Linked DNA regions of Homo sapiens: regions 1, 2 and 3 are each linked to region 4. Evidence: promoter capture Hi-C in 16 types of primary human blood cells and fetal thymus (Javierre and others, 2016). All regions are on one chromosome and are shown on one strand. The core of a region is centred on a gene start or on the middle of the fragment in contact, and the rest is flanking DNA. Distances in the headings are between cores, read along the strand shown. Region 1 overlaps RAD51B (RAD51 paralog B). Region 2 overlaps RAD51B (RAD51 paralog B). Region 3 overlaps RAD51B (RAD51 paralog B). Region 4 holds the start of ACTN1 (actinin alpha 1).

Region 1 (4,774 bases), core at 1,949-4,448, 1.1 Mb after region 4:
CTCATGCCTGGTCTGGCCGCGGATCCCACACAGAGCTTGCTCCTGCTGGCACTCCGAGCTGTGCTGGCCAGATCCCGCACTTGCTCACTCATACCAGCACATGAAGCTTGCTCCTGCAAGTGCCTGGAACAGCCAGCCAGATCCCGCACTCACTCACTCACGTGCTCCCTCCCGCAAGAGGTTGAGCATGGTGGGCCGAGTAAATGGGATACCCCTGTCATAAGTCCAGCAAAGGGGCTGAGAAAAATCTTCCATCATTAATATCATTAGAGTGCTAACTAGCAGAGGAAAAAGGACTAGCCTTTCTATACATACTATCCATGTGCCAAGTTTTGGATATGTTCTCAGATTTAATGAGCTGAAAACTGTTCAATGCTTTGTGATTTTTAAAAGGGTGAAACAAGCCATTATTTTAATTAAGATGATATATTTGGAAATATTCAGTGAAGTATCAAGTACCTTGAAAATGTAAAGTATTACTTTACTATTCTATCTTTAAAGAAAACATGTAAAAAATAGCTGAAAAGTTAAACAAGGGCAACTGGCATTTTCCCTACTTCATTATTTTTATGTACTGATTCAGTATAGTCTTGGAGAAAATAAAACATCATGTGAATAACAGTAAGAGATTTCTGGGTTTGTTTGTTGAGTTTGGATTAGAGTTTGGATAGTAGCATTTACTTTAAACCATAATAAACAATTTCTAATTTTTTTTAACAATCTCAGATCCTGCTCACAAATTTTTTTCATCTCTTCCTAGACTCAAAAAAATTATACCATATGCGATTTTATGGGCTGCCTGGAGTTACATTTCATTTTTTTTCAGGTTTATTTAGTGGGTGAAAACATTTCAACATTAATAATTTTTAGCTTCAGATAGTCTAGCTCTGAATTCTAGCACCCAAACCACAAAATTTCAAGTTGTGTTCAGTTCCCAGCTTCAGCCCCAATGGTGGTTAGAAAGAGAAAACATGCCAAACCAGAATAGGCTAAGTTATTTGCTTCTTGTAAACTCAGACTGAATACAATATTTACACAGCGAAAACACCAGTAAAAAAACAATTCACTTCATATAGTTAGAGCCAAAGTTTCAACAACCTGCTTGAGAAATGTAAAAGAACTAAAAAAAAAAAAAGTCAGTAGTGAATATCACTCAAATATCAGCAAGGAAGAAAATGTTAATAATTGGTTTGAAGAGGAAAGAGAATTGTTCCCAAGAAAAGGTCTAATTGTACTAAAGTAAAAATGAAGCCTGCTCATCTTAAACTTTTCATGGCTGAGAGGAATGTAAAATCTGGTCCAGTTAGGACCTAAAATCTTATCAAGTTAACTCTCCTCACATTCAAGATGAGGGCAACTGGACAGGGTAATCTGCCAAGCCAATACCTGGCAGAAGACAATTTAAGGATGCCTGGCTCTGATCTGAAACCAGTGAGCATGTTTTAAAAAAGCTTCATTAAAAAATATTTTTTAATGACCTCCAGCATCTAACTACTTGTCTCCGTTTGCTCAACAATTATGTAGAAATATGAGTAGGTCTTCAGACCTACAAAATTCATTTTTAAAATAACTAACATTCTAAATCCTAAAGCCAAAACCATAAAAAAGGAAAAAAAAAAAGAATCTCAGAAAGGCCAGGTTGCATTGCATTTTGCCTTGTGAAAGAAACCTTGATCTTAAATTACTTTACACCAACATGTGGAAGAGTTTATGTCTTGGATTCTCTCTACCACTCCCTCCTTTTTCATATTGACAGCTGCCGTTTTGGAAGTAAATGGGAAGGGAGAGAGGAAGAGTAGGGATGGGAAAAGAGCAGAAAAAGCAGGAGGGAATGGAAATGACAAGTACCCCAAGTTCCACCATTAACAAAAATCAAACAGTATTAAGGGATATAATCATTCATTTAACAGCAGTTATTGAACATGTGCCACATAAAAGACTCTAGTAAACCATTACAGAGCAGAATGTTTATTTCTAAATTAGAGAGTAAGTGAAGAATTGGGAACAATGGTCCAATCAACCGCATATGCTAAATGTCTGTATTAGAACAGAGGCCTAGTTATCTGCCTTTCAAAACATAGGGCAGGATAAATGAATGTCAGCAGACTGTACTCAAGGAACATCCATTTGAAATCTCTCTCTGGTTTTCCTGCTGCTGTTACAACTTGTGGGGCACATCTGAACCTCACTGCAGCCTGAAGAAGACAGGATCCACCTTTGCAGACATGGAGACCCATGAGCAAAAAAATAAATGTTTGCTGCTGTTGTCAGCAGCTAAAATCAACTAATAAATATCTATGTCTTACACTTAACTGTTTCATGTACTTCTGTTACATGGCTCGTGCTTATAGGCATTTGAGTTTACAACCCCTGCCTTATTATTTCCTGTGATCATGTAGGCCACAGCTAATCCTGCCAATTATAAAAAGAACTATAATAGGCCGGGTGCGGTGGCTCAAGCCTATAATCCCAGCACTTTGGGAGGCCAAGGTGGGCGAATCACGAGGTCAGGAGATCCAGACCATCCTGGCTACTAACACAGTGAAACCCCGTCTCTACTAAAAATACAAAAAAAAAAAAATTAGCCAAGCGTGGTGGCGGGCACCTGTAATCCCAGCTGCTGGGGAGGCTGAGGCAGGAGAATGGCATGAACCCGGGAGGCGGAGCTTACATTGAGCCGAGATCGCACCACTGCACTCCAGCCTGTGCAACAGAGCAAGACTCTGTCTCAAAAAAAAAAGAACTATAATAGTAATTGTTCCAAGAAAAAACTAAGATGCTGGCCAGGCGCGGTGGTTCATGCCTGTAATCCCAGCACTTTGGGAGGCCAAGGCAGGTGGATCATGAGGTCAGGAGATCGAGACCATCCTGGCTAACATGGTGAAACCCCATCTCTACTAAAAATACAAAAACTTTGCCAGGCATAATAACTATGCAGATATTACATCTCTCTGTGTTGAACTGAGTTCTCTGGTCCTGTACTCTAGATTATATTACAGTATGAAAATAATAGTTTTTTAAGATACAGGATCTCACCCCAGGCTGAAGTGCAGTGGCACAAGCATAGCCCACTGCAGGTTTGAACTCCTGGCTCAAGTGATCCTCCTGCCTCAGTCTCCTAAGTAGCTGGGACTATAGGCATGCACCACCACACCTAATTTTTTTTTTTTTTACTTTTTGTAGAGCTAGGGTCTTGCTATGTTACTCAGGCTGGTCTCAAACTCCTGGCCTCAAGCGATCCTTCTGCTTCAGCCTCCCAAAGTGCTGGGATTACAGGCATGAGCCACCACACCTAGCTGAAAATACCTTTTTTGATGATATCTCTGAATACTTTTTTTTTTTTTTGAGACGGAGCCTTACTCTGTTGCCCAGGCTGGAGTGCAGTAGTGCAATCTCAGCTCACTGCAACTTCTGCCTCCTGGATTCAAATGATTCTCATGCCTCAGCCTCCCAAGTAGCTGGCACAACAGGCGCATGCCACCACACCCAGCTAATTTTTGTATTTTTGGTAAAGATGGGGTTTTACCATGTTGGGCAGGCTGGTCTCAAACTCCTGGCCTCAAGTGATCTGCCCATCTCGGCCTCCCAAAGTGCTGGGATTACAGGCGTGAGCCACTGCACCTCACCTGTATCTTTAAATATAACTTTAATTTTACCTATTCACAATAGCATCTATCTTATGCATTCTCAGCATGGGTAATATTAACCCCAAGGGTAAAAGTTGTTTTGGAGGAAGGGGAAGATTTTACTCTTTTATGTATAAAGCACAGATATTTATACAGTACAAAAACAGATATACAGTATATGTGTGGTAGAAAAACTTCATTGGAGGGTGTGGTTAAGAAAAAATTGTTAAAAAGGCTTCTTAGGAGACAATAATGAAAAAATGAATGAGGAACACTGATCTATATTATCTCATATGAGAAGGCTACCGAACTGATTTGATCTCCACATAATACAAACTTTAAGGTGTTTGCTGTTCTCAGGGAATGGAACAATGCCCTGTAGTTCACTTCCTTCAGCAGGTCCGCAGAGTTGGTGTCTCTGATTTCTCCTCTGCTGCTTCTGCTTTAAGAATGAATAGCACTTCTCTACTTCCACTTTTCATGTTGGTGTTGTAACTGAATATGTAAGCATACACAGATTCAGTGACATTCACGTAAGTCAAAACTGATGATAAATAACCTAGGAAATTTTTAAGTTAAAGTCAGGAAAGAGAAACTATAAAAATGACAGCAAAATATTTCCAGATTGATTCTTACTCTCTCAATCTCCAGATCCACTCTAAGTTCATTCAATCAGTTGCCTTACCCCACCCACCCACCAGATCTATCTGACATCTATCTAGGACACTAGGCTTGACCTTTTAACCAGAAACAAAGACTGTGCAATGCAGTTAATTAGGCACCTTCACTGACACCTGTATTTTATTAGTTCTCTACTGCTTCATAACAAATTACCACAAACTTGGCAGCTTGAACAGCATCCATTTATTATGTCACTGCAAGTCAGTTTTGACTTATGTGAATGTCACTGAATCTGGGTATACTTATATATTCAGTTACAACACCAAGATGAAAAGTGGAAGTAGAGAAGTGCTATTCATTCCTAAAGCAGAAGCAGCAGAGGATAAATCAGAGACAATCAGGTCAGAAGTCCAGATAGGGTTGGCTAGGTTCTCTGCTTAAGGTCTTACAAGGTTGAAATCAAGATCTCAGCTGAGCTGGACTCTTATCTGGAGGTTGGGAGTAAGAATCAACTTCCAAGTTCATTC
Region 2 (4,961 bases), core at 593-3,092, 1.1 Mb after region 4:
GAAGTTCATGGGAAAGCTCAGAATTCAGATATCAATAGGAGTTACAGCCTATAAAAGATTTTAAAGATCATAAGACCAGATGATATTAGGGATTGAGTACAGATATAGAAGAGAAAAGGTCCTAGGACTGAGTTCTGGGATTCCCCAAAGCCTAGAAGTTAAAATGATGAGGAGGATCCAGCAAAAGGGACTGAGAGGAGGAGGTGACCAAGAAGGTAGGTGTAAAAGAAGAGAGAATAGTTCCAAGAAGCCAAGTGGGCTGGGCATGGTGGCTCATGCCTATAATCCCAACACTTTAGGAGGCCAAGGCAGGAGGATCTCTTGAGCCCAGAAGTTTAAGACCAACCAGGGCAACATACCAAAACCTTATCTGTACTAAAAATTAAAAAATTAGCTGGGCATGGTGGCATATGCCTGTGGTCCCAGCTACTCGAGAGGCTGAGGTGAGAGGATTGCTTGAGTCTGAGGGGTCAAAGCTGCAGTGAACCATGATAGCACCACTGTACTCCAGCCTGGGTGACAGAGTTAGGTGAGAACCTGTCTAAAAAAATAAAAAGTCAAGGGAAGAGAGCTTTTCAAGAAAAAGTGAGTGATCAACTCTTTCGAATGCTGCTATTGGGTTGGATAAAATTTTTTAAATCAGTTGCATTATAGAGCTGGAAACTTAAGCCTGGATAGAGTGAACTCAAGAGAGAATGAAAGAAGGGATTTCCACTTTAGCCCACAAAGGATTAACTGGTACATGAATTGCACTAAAATAATAAGTAGAAAATCAGACAGAATACATGAAATAAGAGTTTTCAGGTACTGAACAATAGAAAGCTTGAGACTGTAATCCTTGAGAGAAAGGAAACAAACACAATGAGCTTACAATCACCTCAGTTTGCTCCAGAGGCAGTTTCCAGGCTGCAACACAAGAAAGGGAAAGTAAACAGAGCCTGGTAGACAACCTGAGTTGAGGAGATGGGGATCGGAGTTTGGGAAAGCTAAGGTGGCTAGAACTTATGGGGCAGAGTACCAGAGAGGAAGCAGGTGTGCAGAGTGAGCACTGCAAAGATCTGCAGAGAGGGCCACTTGAGAACTAATCTGCACATGTGTGAAGGGAAACTACTTGAGGTTGAGGAAAGAACCACCAGAAAGTATCAGACTGAACACTTCCTAGTGCCCACACAGGGTGAGAACAGTTCGGGTTTACACAAGGTGAAGAATAAAGAGACCTTATTATACACTGGGCATTGGGCAGAATTTTCAGAAGGATTTTACCTTAGTAGTGAAGCTAAATAAGTTTCAGAATAAAAAACCACAGTCATGTGCTGCATAACGACATTTCAGTCAATGATGCATCACTTATACAACAGTGGTCCCATAAGCTTATATAGTATATTTTTACAATACCTTTCCTTTGTTTAGATACACAAATACTTACCATTGTGTTGTAATTGCCTATTCAATACAGTAACATGCTGTACAGGTTCATAGCCTAGAAGCAATAGGCTATACCATATAGTCTAGGTGCGCAGTAGGCTATACCATCTAGGTGCATGTAAGTACACTGTAGGGTGTTCATACAACAATGAAATTGCCTAACAATGCATTTCTCAGAACATATCCCAATTGTTAAGCGAAGCATGACTGTACCTGGGATTTTTCCATAACAACATAGAAAAGCAACCTGCAAAAGGATCAAACTAATACTAAAATGTACCTTAAAACAAAACCTAACACTCTTGAAAAACATATGTTAAAATCCAGCACCCACCAACAACGTAAAATTTACAATGTTTAACATCGAATTGAAAAATTACCAGACAAGTAAAGGAAGAGGAAAAGATCCATTACCAGGAGAAAAATCAGTCAATAAAAACAGATTTAAAAAATTATATATATGATGGCATTCATGGATAAAAACCTCAAAACGGCTATTATTAATCTTCTACATTTGCTCAAGGAGTTAAATAAAGCAGGGGTTGTCAAACTGTGCACTATGGCCCATTGCCTGTTTTTGTCAATAGAGTTTTATTAGAACACAGACATATTTTTAATATTCTGTTTGACAAAATAGAAGCACTTCTACTACATTCTGAAGTACAACCATTGTCTCAAGGAAAAACATCTGTACAATTGGGTTCTCAGACTAAGAAGTCACTTTTTCCATGGGAGACCATTTTTACTTGAAAGAATGATTGATAGATAAGTTATGGTTTTTCTGACTTAAGTATTTGGTAGACGTTTTCTCAAAATGAGCAAAGTAAGCCCGACACTTCAAGAAAAACAAGTGGCAATATTTATTGCCAATGATAAAATTCAAGCTTTTAATGAAAAATCAGATTCCTAAAAAACTTACATCTGCTACCATGAGTTTGACTGCATCCCAATACTTAAATACTTTTTGTTCAGATCAGTGGAGATACTAATGAAATTTTTTTATATTGAGTAATAAAATGTGTCAACATTTAGAACTCCATAAGACAGTGAACCAATATTTTCTGAGTGATAAATGCATAATATTACAAAATCATGCATAGGTAAATATCCATTAAGAGCCTAAGACAGATGAATAGATTTTAATGTAACTGTAGAAAAAATGCAATAATATGGTTTCAGATTCTATATCACAACTAACCTCTAAGCAACTATTACTCAATTCCTGGTGTAGTATCAAAGAAGCATATCTTTAATTATCTGAAGAGACTATTAAAATATTCCTCCCTTTCCAACTATAACCAGTATAAGGCCAGATCTTCATATCTCAACCAAAACAACAGAGTGCAACAGACTGAATGCAGAAGCAGATATTAGAATCAGGCTGTCTTCTATTAAGTCAGACACTAAAGAGATTTGCAAAAACATAAAACAACGCCACTCTTTTTTCACTTTTTTTAGTCAAAAATGTATTTATTTTCCATAAAAAATACATGTAAAGTCCAGGTGCAGTGGCTCACATCTGTAGTCCCAGCTACTCAGGAGGCTGAGGCAGGAGGCTCTCTTAAGTCCGGGAGCTGGAGGTTACAGTGAACTATGATCATGTCACTGCACTCCAGCCTGGGTGACAGAGCGAGGCCCTGTCTCTTAAAAAAAAAACAAAAAACAAACAAAAAATATATGACAGTCAGTTTTGTGTCAACTTGGCTAGTCCACAGTCTCCTGTTATTCAATCAAACACTAATCTATGCATTGTTATGAAAGGATTTTGTAGATGTCATTAATGTCCATAAACAGATGACTTTAAGTACTAGAGATTATCCTACATAATCTGGGTGGGCTAATTCAATCACTTGAAAAGCCTTAACAGCAGAGCTGAGACTTCCTTTAAAAAGATGAAATTCCACCTATGGACTACAGCTTAGGCCCTTGCCTGAGAGTTCTAGCCTGCCCTTTCCAACAGCCTGCCCTATGGATTTCAGACAACTCCACATCTGCATATGCCAATTCTTTGCAATAACTCTCTTAATATATGTTCTACTGGTTCTATTTTCCTAATGGAGCCCTGTTTGGTACAATATGCTAACATGTAATGGCCAGGCACAGTGGCTCACGCCTGTAATCCCAGGACTTTGGGAGGCTGAGATGAACAGATCACTTGAGGTCAGGAGTTCGAGACCAGCCTGGCCAACATGGCGAAACCCCGTCTTTAATTTAAAAATTCAAAAATTAGCCAGGCATGGTGGCAGGCGCACTGGTGGGCACCTGTAATTGCAACTATTCGGGAGGCTGAGTAAGGAGAATCGCTTGAACCCAGGAAGTGGAGGTTATAGTGAACCAAGATCACACCACTGCACTCAAGCCCGGCGACAGTGAGACTCCATCTCAAAAACAAAAACAAACACACAAAAAAACACATACCATGTAATGGACTTACTGCATAATAGATAATAGTTAAATATTCTTTAAATTTTCCAGTTTAAATTCCTAATATGATAAATATCAATTGATATAATCCACCTAGAGTTTAAGGGCCCTGAAAATTAAAACTTTAAAAACTACAGCCATAAAGCAAAATCTGAAAGATCAACCACCAAAGAAATCATAGATAACAAAAGATAGCATAACCAAAGTTGAAAGATAAATTATAGAATTATAGCCCAGGAAAAAAATCATATAAACATAAATATCCATAATACACAAAGTATTTATATATATCAATAAGAAAAAATGGACAAAGTGTATTTCTAGGTAATTTGCCAAAGAAATATAAATGGACAATGAATATATGAAAAGATGTTGGTTCACAATAGTTAAAACAATGAGCTATCACTTTTTTCCCGCAAGTATGACAAAATTAAAGAAACTAAAAACAGTGATGAAGGCTCTCAAAGTACTATTGGTTGAGATACAATTATGTAAAATATTTCTAGAGGAGAATGTGGCAGTTTATACAAAAATTTAAAATATATCCTTAATGGATTTCTGATGGATTAAAGATATTGACATAAAAGATAAAACTATAACTATATTAGGAAAAAACTGTAAGACAATATCTTGATAACTAATAGTGGGGGAAAACTTGTTAATTAAGATCTGAAAACCAATACCATTAGGCAACAACTTCAAATTTACAAATTTCTGGCCAGGCATGGCGGCTTATGCTTGGAATTCAAGCAGTTTGGGAGGCGGAAGCAGGAGGGCTGCTTGAGCCCAGGAGTTTGAGACCAGTTTGGGCAAGATGGTGAGACCCCAGCTCTACAAAAAAATTTTTTTAATTAGCCAGGCGTGGTAGCACACGTCTACAGTCCCAGCTATTTGGGAGGCTAAAGCAAGGGGATCCCTTGTACCCAGTAAGTCGAGACAGCAGTGAGCTATGATTGTGCCACTGCACTCTAGCCTGAGTGAAACCTCGTCTCTAATAAATTTTTTTAAATTATAAATTTCTCTTCAATAAAGGACACTACAAAGATGACAGATAACAGAGCAGGAGGAGATATTTTCAATGTGTAAAACTGACAAACAATATCTAGAAGACA
Region 3 (4,775 bases), core at 1,506-4,005, 1.1 Mb after region 4:
CTATGAGATGGTTCTCAATGTTTCCCCGGTCTTCCCCATTACTCTATGCTACAACCAAATACAAATAAATGTCTGCCATTTCCTCAAATGTTCTCTATCTCCATTTCTTTCTTCTTACTACATATTTTTCTTAAGATAGCCTTCTCTCTTTATTCATTGGTAAATATCATCTATAGGACCTTTAATCTTCTGTTTTACCACCTCTACTTGTTTATATGTCAATTTTTTTTTCCTGGGGACTAAGCATTATCGGAGGGTGGGAATGATGCCCTAACTTGTCCTGTATTCCTAAGACCAAGCACAGAGCCTGTCATACAGCACATATGCCATCAATGTTTGTTGACTGGATTAACTAATGTTCTCAGACCCCTGGGTGACCACATATTACAGAAACTTAACTTCATAAAATTGTACACAGTATTAGAACTTTAAAATAATAATATGCATTTAGATTACCTTTTTCTCCTCTTGAAGTTTTTCTTTATGGGCCATTTATCTGTGCATATATTAACTGGCCAAATGAGAAATGAGATTAGACATAACCATAAACCATATTTATATAAGAGAAATACTGATGTGATACAAACTGCTACATTTTATATGAGTATATAAAAGAAAAAAATGCAAAGATGAAATAGATTTATAACTAATTAGGCAACATTCTTTAAACAGTAAAATTTGTATTTTTTAATCAATCTCCAACAACAAAATAACGTTAGAGTTGAAAAAAATTCAACAAGAAAAAAAATCCATTATTAAATTGGAAGAACATTACTTTATTGGCATAAGTCAATGGAGTACAGAAAACGTATCTTGGGAGGGTAAAATAATTATTACCTAAGAAATTCAGTTGCTTTTCATCTAAAATTAACAACTAAAGTTTTTTCCTTTGTACCGCTCTAGTCATTTTAAAAACAAAATATTCTTATAAACATGATAGCACCATACATACTAAAATAAAAACTGATGAATGCTTATCAATATATAGATGGATTTTAAATCCTTTAAACTACAATAAATGGATAACCCCACTCATTCCCTGGAGAAAAAGAAAAAGAAAAAAAAAGCTTTCTTTTCTAGAATATGACGGAAACTATTCTTCAGCTAATCCAACAGTCAGCCCCAAGCTCTTGCTTTGCCAGTTCAATTACAGATGCTCAAAGGAGCTAAATACTAGGTTTCTGAGCCTCCATTCCAACTATGGGTGATCTAGCAGCAGAGAACTGAAGGGGAGAAAAAGTATTTTTTCCTCAACCTTCTTAAGTATGTAGTTAGCACAGACTTCTATAACAGAAGGCAGATTAACAAGAGAAAAACAGATAGGTTTATTAACGTGTACGGTGCATATCACACAGGAAAAGCCCTCAGTGAAAAGTAACTCAAGGCAGTGGTTCATGAGTCTGGTTTATATAGTATATCCAACAAAGAACAATAAATTTTAGAGAAGTGACAAGGCAAAGGAAAGCAGTCCCAGACTTCCAGAGGTGGGAAACCGTGGAAAGGTAAATATATGGAAGGCACTAATGGAGTAAAGTCAGCTTGCAGATTCCTCTGGCGCCGTCTCTGAGATGATAAAGGGTTTTTTTCCAGTAAAGAATTTACATCCTGTCTTTAGGGGAGAAAGGGAGGAGGGAGGACAGCAAGACATTTTTCTCTGTAAATCTGTGTCCTGCTTTTAGGCAGAGAGCTCTACTGCATCTTAACTGTCTTCAGCTCGAGAATCCTTCACATTTTGGGGAGGCATATTCTGGTTTCCTACAGTACTAAACTTTACGAACCTTCACAGAATACTATAATTGCCTGCCTACTTGCATGTACCCCTTATTACAGTGTAAGCTCCCTTAAGTTAGGGACAGTTTATTCCCTAATGTCTGAACAAACTATGAAACTCTTTCAGAATAATCACATGCATCAGTTTAATTTGGTTTGTACAGACATCTTCCCTGGAGTTTCCACCTTCCTGCTCCAATCTGTACTAGTCATCTCTAGGCTTGCTACTCAGCTGTCATCCTGGACTTTTGTTCACCATCATCTTGCAAACTTCCTCTCTCTCTCCAGTGTTACATTCCCCATTTTCCTAGATTTCATGCCTTCTTTCACATACTTCAATAGCTTCCTGTGGGGAGATGTGTAGGAGATAAATTTTTTGGCACTTTGCATGCTAAAAAAATATCTTTAGGCTATCCTCATAATTGATTGACTATTTGGTTGGAATTAGAAATCTATGTTTGTCATAATTTTCCCTCAGCACTTTGAAGGTATTGCTTCCTTGTCTACTAGCTTCCAGTGTTAGTTTTGAGTTAAGTCTGACACTCCACTAATCCCTATTCCTTTCCTTGTGACTTGTTTTTACTCTCTGGCACTCTGAAATGTCCTGGTAATATGTCTTTTTCCCCCTCATTAATGGTGCTGAGCACTTTCAATTTAGAAACAGATGTCCTTCAGTTCTGGAAATTTTTCTTGCATTGTTTCACTGATAATTATTTCCCTTAGCTGAGCACAGTGGCTCATGCCTGTAATCCCAGCATTTTGGGAGGCCGAGGCAGATGAATCAACTGAGGTCAGGAGTTTGAGACTAGCCTGGCCAACATGGTGAAACCCTGTCTCTACTAAAAATACAAAAATTAGCCGGGTGTGATGGTGCATGCCCACAATCCCAGCTACTCGGGAGGCTGAGGCAGAAGAATTGCTTGAACCCTGGAGGTGGAGGTTGCAGTGAGCCAGGATCATGCCACTGCACTCTGGCCTGGGCAACAGAGTGAGACTCCATCTCAAAAAAATAAATAAATAAAATTATTTCCCTTCCCTTTTCTTTGATCTCTCTCTCTCTCTGAAAATCTTTTTAGAAAGGAGATGGGCCTCCTGAGTAGATTCTCCATTATTTTTAATATTTCTGTAATATTCTTACATCTCTTTGGCTTTTATATTCTGGGAGATTTCTTCAATCTTATCCTCCCATCCATCATTTAAAAATTTTTTTCTATCACATTCTGTGAGCTCTTTTTCCCTAAGTATCTCCCTTTTGCAATCTCTTATTCTTGTTTCATGTAGCAATTTATTCTCTGATCTCACAGAGATAATGGTCAGATTCTGTGCTCAGTAATTTACATTCACCATATTTAATCATCACAACCAACCCATTGGTAGATGTCATTATCTCTGCAAGAATGCCAAACAGACATCTCAAACTCAATATATATATATATAGTACTGAACTCCTGATCTTCCCCCTCAAATCTGCTCTGTCCACAGTGTTCCTCTTATCAGTTGATAACAGCTCCATCCATTCAGTTCCTGAGCCAAAAACATAGACTCCTTTTTGTTTCATATAACATACTCAAATCGTCAGGAAATCCTGTTGTCTCAATCTCAAAAATATATACAAAATTCAATGATTCCTCAGCATCTTCACTGATAATACTCGTTAAGTTATCATCATCTGTGATATGGTTTGAATATTCTCCCACCCAAATCTCATGTTGAATGTTAATCCCCAACATGGGAAATGGGGCCTAATGGAAGGTGCTTGGGTCACAGGGGCAGATCCCTCATGGCTCGCTGCTGTCTTCACGCTAGTGAGTTCTCAAGAGATCTGGTGGTTTAAAAGTGTTGGGCACCTCACCCTCTACTCTCTCTCTTGCTCTTGCTTTTGTCATGTGATGGGCCTGCTCCCACTTCGCCATCCACCATAAGTAAAAGCTCCCCTGAGGCCTCCGCGGAAGTTGAGCAGATGCTGGTGCCATGCTTCCTGTACAGCCTACAGAATCATGAGCCAATGAAACCTCTTTTCTTTATAAATTACCCAGTCTCACGTATTCCTTTATAGCAACGCAAGAACAGCCTAAGAAAATCTGTTGCCTAGGTTACTAGGAAAAGCTCCTAATGATTCTCCTTTATTTTATTCTTAATGCCCTGCAATCTATTCTCAACTCAGCAATACCAGAGCAAGCCTTTTAAAACTGCATTCAAGTCTTTGCTCAGATGTCACTGGCTCAACGATGCCAACCCTTACTACCCTAATTCTGCACCTCCTTTCTTCTGTATTCAGTATCTCCCTTACCCTGCTCTACTTCCTCTCTGCTTACAGCAATTATTATTTTTAACATACAATTCCTTTTTATTGCCTCCCCCATCCTCCGTCCTCTACCATTAGAATGGAAACTGCACTAAGGGAAAGACTGTCATTATTTTATTCACTGGAATACCCCAACACATAGAAGAGTGACTAATAATATTTGTTGAATTAAGTAATAATAACTACTTTATACATGAAGGAAGTAAGGCCTAGAAGATTAACTTGTCTCACATCTAAAACATGAAAAATTTGGTTAGAACTCAGGTTGGCCTGGTACCAAAGTGCACATATTTAACTTAGATTGCCTCTTATCCATGTCTGTGGCTAAAATAAATAAAGCCTCCATAGACTTCCAAGCCCAAGCTTTGAGGTGGGTTCTTATGTTTCTAATAAAAAAAAAAATATTACTGTCAGGCACTGTGGCTCACGTCTGCAATCCCAGCACTTTGGAAGGCCAAGGCAAGGAGGATCACTTGAGGCCAGGAGTTCGAGACCAGCCTGGGCAACATGGCGAAACCCCGTCTCTACAAAAAATACAAAAATTAGCCAGGTGTGGTGGCATGCACCTGTAGTCCCAGGTACTCAGAAGGCTGAAGTAAACTGTGAGCTCCACTACACTCCAACCTGAGCGACAAAGTGAGACCAGTCTCAAAAAAAAACAAAAATGAAACAAAACAAAAAATACTTTAAGTAAATTTAA
Region 4 (5,168 bases), core at 2,308-4,807:
ATATTTTGGGCTGGTTAATTCTTTCTTTCTTTCATATTTGGCTGGTTAATTCTTTCTTTCTTTCTTTTTTTTTTTTCTGGACAGAGTGTTGCTCTGTCACCCAGGCTGGAATGCAATGGTGCAATCATGGCTCACTGCAGCCCTGACCTCCTGGGCTCAAGCAATCCTCCTGCCTCAGCCCCCCAAGTAGCTGAGAATACAGATTCACACCACCATGGCCAGCTAATTTTTGTATTTTTGGTAAAGACGGGTTTTCGCCACCTTGCCCAGGCTGGTCTCGAACCCCTGACCTCAAGCGATCCACCTGCCTCAGCTTCCCAAAGTGTTGGGATTACAGGCATGAGCCATCATGCCTGGCCTGGATAATTCTTTGTTGTGGGGATGCTGTCCTATCCATTGTAGAACGTTTAGCAGCATTCCCAACCTGCATCCACTGGATGCCAGTAGGAACCCACCAGCTGTGATAACCCAAAATGACTCCAGACATCAACAAATATCCCTTGTGAGGGGGAGCTGTTAAAATATCCTAGAGTTGAGAACCACTGGGGTTAAAGGCACAGGTCTGGGAGTCACATGTACTGGTGCCATTTTGGACTAGTTACTACCTCTCTGAGCCTCAGTTTGTTTTCTCTGTAAGACAGAGAAACACCTCATAGGAGGAACTTAATATAGGTAAAGTGCATGGGATCTCTCAACAAAAACACTTATCTTTTCTCCAGACTCCTAGGTCTTTCAGTTTTATCCCCTAAGTATTTCTGGTCTATCCACACTTTTCCATTTCGACCTGGATTATTGCAACAGCTTTGCAACTGGTGTCAAAGCTTCCAGCCAGCCTTGCTCCCCTTAGATCCACACTCCACCTGGCACATGAGGCCTTCATGGTCTGGCTGCTTTGCACCTCTCTAGCCCCGTCTCTTGCCCCTCCCGGCCTTGGATTTCTAGTCCAGCCACGTTGAGATGCTAGACATTCCTTTGTATACCATGCAGTTTCCTGTCCTTGTGCATTAGCTTGTGCTGGTCCTTCCTTCTGGAGTAACTTCCCACACTCTTTATCTGGCTGACTCTCATTCTTTAACGTTCACTTAAGTTTCACCTCCTCCAAAAAGTTAAGCCTGGAGCCTCCTTTCCCACGGGGTTCAGTGCCCCTCATCTGTTCCAACAGTACACTTGTCAGATCTCTCTCCTTGCGTCTAACTCATGACATCATATTTTTGTTTCTGTGTCTGTCTGCTGGGCTGTGTGCGACAGGGACTATGGCTTTTTCATCTCTGTATACATCTAGTACATTCCCTGATATGCAGATGGTGCTCAGCAAATATTTATTGGGTGAATGAATGGATACAGCACTACCATTACCCTCTGTGTTAGGTTTAGAGCCACAGTTTAGAAGCGGTGATAAAATGGTCCATAAATCAGCTGTCTCTGTGGCTCAGAAGCAGTGCTTCCTCAGCCAGGGGCTTTTGGAAGGCACAGTGCTGGAGGGTAACACTCATATGAATATGTGTGGTTGACGAATGATGCAGCCAGAGACACCATCCGATATCTGCTCACAACAGCAGCAGTGGCTCTTCTGAGAACCAGGGGGCACTTTCTTCACCTTTTCCATGGGTGGCTTTCAGGTATCCACCATCGCCTGGAGAGAAGGTAGAGGACAAAATCCAGCCCATAATTCAGGGCCCTTCCTGTCAGTGAACTTCTTCTTCTAACTCCTTCACTCACTTCTGAATTGACATATTTGCATTTTAAATTTAAATTTAAATTTAAATTTTTGCAGTTGATGCAGCCATTCATCCTACAAATACAGTCCTCCCTTAGTATTGGCAGGGTATTGGTTTCAGCATCCCCATGGATACCAAAATCTGAGGATGCTCAAGTCCCTCACAGTCAGCCTGGGTATCTGCGGGTTCTGAAGCCTGTGGATATAAAGGGCCAAATGCATATATGTATGTATATATTTTGAGACAGTCTTGTTTTGTCACCCAGGCCGGAGTGCAATGGTGAAAATGCACCTCACTGCAACCTCGACCTCCCAGGCTCAAGGGAGTCTCCCGCCTCAGCTTCCCAAGTAGCTGGGACTACAGGCGTGTACCACCATGCCCGGCTGATTTTTGTATTTTTAGTAAGGACGGGGTTTTGCCACGTTGGCCAGGCTGGTCTCCAACTCCTGGGCTCAAGCGATCTGCCCGCCTCAGCCTCTCAAAGTGCTGGGATTACAGGTGTGAGCCACCGCCACCGTGGCCAGCCTCAAATCCATAAATTAAGCTCTACTATGTGCTGGGTGCTGGGGTGGAAGACTGGCACATCTGTTGTTCACAAGACAGTGCATAACCTAGGAGAGGTTTATTTGCTACTGTTCTTCGGAACCGGGATCCCATAGAGGAGCCTGCCAGAACGCGAGGCCTGCTCCTTCCCGGGCATTAGCGCGTTTAGACTCTCCTCTTACTAAGCCCAGGGAAAGGAGTCCTGGCAGGTGGCAAGCAGAAGTTAGAGCTATTTAGTCACTCCCGCCCTCCATCCTCCTCCAATGACAATAAGGTTTTGTTTGTCAGGCATAAGGTTACCGGATTGGCCTGTGAAGTCCAGAAGCTCTTTCCGCGCTCGGCTCTTTGAGCCTCAGTTTCCCCATCTGTCAGGCGTGTGTATGTGGGAGGGGGGTACGGAGTAGATTTACCTAGATCACTCGGGGTTGTCCCTTCCAGTTTTGAGGGTGATGTCGGGGTGTCTGTGAGGAGGAGGGAGGACCCTGCCACGCGAAGGTAGTTTTGGTCGCAGCAGCCAGCCAAGTGTGCCCGCGGAGACCGGCAGGGAATTCCGGGAGGCCCCGCTGTGGAGCGGTCCCCAGAGCCCGAGGGCGAGCTAGAAGAGTTCCTGCGGCGAGGCGGGAACGCTCGGTAGCCTCTGAGAGCAGTTCGCTGGCGAGAAACCGGGTTCCTGCAGGGCAGGGATCAGCCGGGTCGCGCCTTGTAGGGTGGGGTGGGGTGGGGCGGGGCCGGGGGGGGCGGCGGTGGAGTCGTGAAATTCCCAAGAAATTCCTTTCCATTGCCCCACTCCGCCCCCTTTCCTAGGGTGCCGACCTGCCCAGACCCAGGTTCCCTGGGAAAGAGAAAATGAATGTTCTTCGGGTTTCCTCGCGTCCTTTCTCCAGCCCCCTCCCACCCCGGGGTTTGGAGCGCGCGTGGGAGCGCAATAACGGTGGCGGGGAACGGGTCCAATCCCGGCGGCTCCTGGGGTTCCCAAGCGCGCTGCCACTCAGTCCCCGAGCTCGGGGAGGCGTCTCCCGGCTTCGGTCCCGTTCAGCTTAAGCTGGCGTCACATGAGCCGCGGGGGAACGGGCACCGCGGGAGTGGGCGGGGGTGTGCGCGCCGGGAGGGGGCCGCCCAGTCCACCTATATGCGCCGCAGCCCGGCTGACGGATGCCAGGAATTCCCAATGAGAGGCGATGGGGGGAAGTTTGGGCAACTCGGCCTGGCCAATGGAGAGCCTCGGGAGGGCTCTGCCCCTTCCCCCCGCCCCCGCCCGCCTCGGCTCCCGCAGCGCTAGTGTGTCCGCCTAGTTCAGTGTGCGTGGAGATTAGGTCCAAGCGCCCGCCCAGAGGCAGGCAGTCCGCGAGCCCAGCCGCCGCTGTCGCCGCCAGTAGCAGCCTTCGCCAGCAGCGCCGCGGCGGAACCGGGCGCAGGGGAGCGAGCCCGGCCCCGCCAGCCCAGCCCAGCCCAGCCCTACTCCCTCCCCACGCCAGGGCAGCAGCCGTTGCTCAGAGAGAAGGTGGAGGAAGAAATCCAGACCCTAGCACGCGCGCACCATCATGGACCATTATGATTCTCAGCAAACCAACGATTACATGCAGCCAGAAGAGGACTGGGACCGGGACCTGCTCCTGGACCCGGCCTGGGAGAAGCAGCAGAGAAAGGTTAGCAGCCGCCCCCGCCCGCTGCAGCCCCCAGCCCCCAGCCCCCAGCCCCGACCCGCTCTGCCTGCCGGGCTCTCGGCTCCGGGCTCTGAACCGGTTCCGGGCGCGCACGGGAGGGGGCGGGGGCGGTGCGGCCGTTGCGAGGTGGGGTGTTGGGTTACAGGCGCCTGGCGGAAGCGGGAGCGCCCCTGCCCCGGAGCCCGGGAACGCCGGGCCGGAGCGCGGGGAGGTGGCGCCGCTGGCGGGCAGGTCTCCTTGGGGGTCCGTGGTCCAGGCCACCCTGCGGCTGTTGCAACCATCCCCGCGTGGGCTGTGCTCGGGGGCGGTGGTCTTCAGGCTGGGGCTGAGACCCCGGCTCGGGGCTGCTTGCTCCGGATCGATTTTCCCTTTTCTTCCGCCCCTGGCCACCTCTCCATATGGCGTGCGGTGGCAGCGCCGCTTCCTGGGCCGCCCTGGGTTCAACCTGAGCGGCGGGCCTCCCGGGACCCTGCTGCCCCTTAGGCGGAGGGGAGAGCGCCGGAGAGATCGGCGGCCGCCTCCGGATCTGCCTGGAGAAGGACCAGCTGGAGTGCGGCTGGGGACGAGAAAACTGGGGGGCGTACGCGGGCTCCCCCGCGGGCCCTGTGGGGGCGGGGTCAGGACAGCAGACCGTTTTATTGCTTAACTCAGTGGGTTGGAAGCTGTAACCCCGACATGGGCTTGCGCTACGTCCTGCCCCTCCGACCCCCGGGAAAGGTGGGCAGCTCGGTTCGAGTTGAGGGGCTGCAGAACGAGGGTCAGTCTTAGGGGATATTTGGGGCCAGTCACTGGGGATCCCTACTTAGCCACGGAGCTGCATCCCAGGCAGGCGCGGTGTGCCGGGTGCGCGCCCCGCCACGGGAGCTGGGCTCGGAGCTGGCGATGGGACCCGGGCACAGTGGCCAGTGGCAGGAAGAGGTCAGAAACCACTCGTGGTGGTGGGGGGAGGGCGCCTCAACCCTACCGCTGCTTCCTGCCTGCGCGGTGAGCCTGTGCCCCCAGGCGGCCACGTACCCTGAATACCCCTTTCCCTCCCCCTCCTCCCGGCTGCCCACTTCCATCCGGTCCCTCCCCGTTTCATACCCTCCCCACCCCCAGGCTGATCTGGGAATGGGGTTTTGGGTGGGGGGGGGACAGGATGGCGCGTCCCTTTGGATAGTGCGGTTAGGGCTGGGCTTGAGGGAGAACGCTCATGTCCAAAAATGGTAACATTCATTCCCTTTTTTAAACTTAAAAGGGGGGT

What was found. Contacts are between HindIII fragments. The CHiCAGO score rates a contact against its expected background, and 5 or more counts as called.
Region 1: a fragment that was not itself captured here is called in contact with the fragment with the promoter of ACTN1 in region 4 in 1 of 17 cell types (total B cells); the score reaches 5.6 in total B cells.
Region 2: a contact is called between a fragment that was not itself captured here and the fragment with the promoter of ACTN1 in region 4, in 2 of 17 cell types (total B cells and naive B cells). The highest score is 5.7, in total B cells.
Region 3: a contact is called between a fragment that was not itself captured here and the fragment with the promoter of ACTN1 in region 4, in 2 of 17 cell types (total B cells and naive B cells). The highest score is 8.8, in total B cells.

Annotation. Positions count from the first base shown.
Region 1 is chr14:67,853,205-67,857,978 of GRCh38, reverse strand. The region is part of intron 4 of RAD51B (RAD51 paralog B); the gene reads right to left. Among named protein-coding and RNA genes, the nearest start is that of RAD51B, 36 kb to the right of the region's middle. RefSeq lists an enhancer at 4,735-4,774. The HindIII fragment of the contact is 3,490 bases long and covers 1,454-4,774 here.
Region 2 is chr14:67,877,569-67,882,529 of GRCh38, reverse strand. The region is part of intron 5 of RAD51B (RAD51 paralog B); the gene reads right to left. Among named protein-coding and RNA genes, the nearest start is that of RAD51B, 60 kb to the right of the region's middle. The HindIII fragment of the contact is 939 bases long and covers 1,373-2,311 here.
Region 3 is chr14:67,916,251-67,921,025 of GRCh38, reverse strand. The region is part of intron 7 of RAD51B (RAD51 paralog B); the gene reads right to left. Among named protein-coding and RNA genes, the nearest start is that of RAD51B, 99 kb to the right of the region's middle. The HindIII fragment of the contact is 3,371 bases long and covers 1,070-4,440 here.
Region 4 is chr14:68,977,691-68,982,858 of GRCh38, reverse strand. It overlaps ACTN1 (actinin alpha 1), which reads left to right and starts at 3,557. Exons shown (of 22, transcript NM_001130004.2): 1 at 3,557-3,907. The coding sequence starts at 3,803. ACTN1-DT (ACTN1 divergent transcript) reads right to left here and starts at 3,177. Exons shown (of 4, transcript NR_073422.1): 1 at 3,075-3,177; 2 at 2,672-2,931. RefSeq lists a silencer at 3,500-3,549 and enhancers at 2,691-3,689, 3,690-4,689. The HindIII fragment of the contact is 14,649 bases long and covers 824-5,168 here.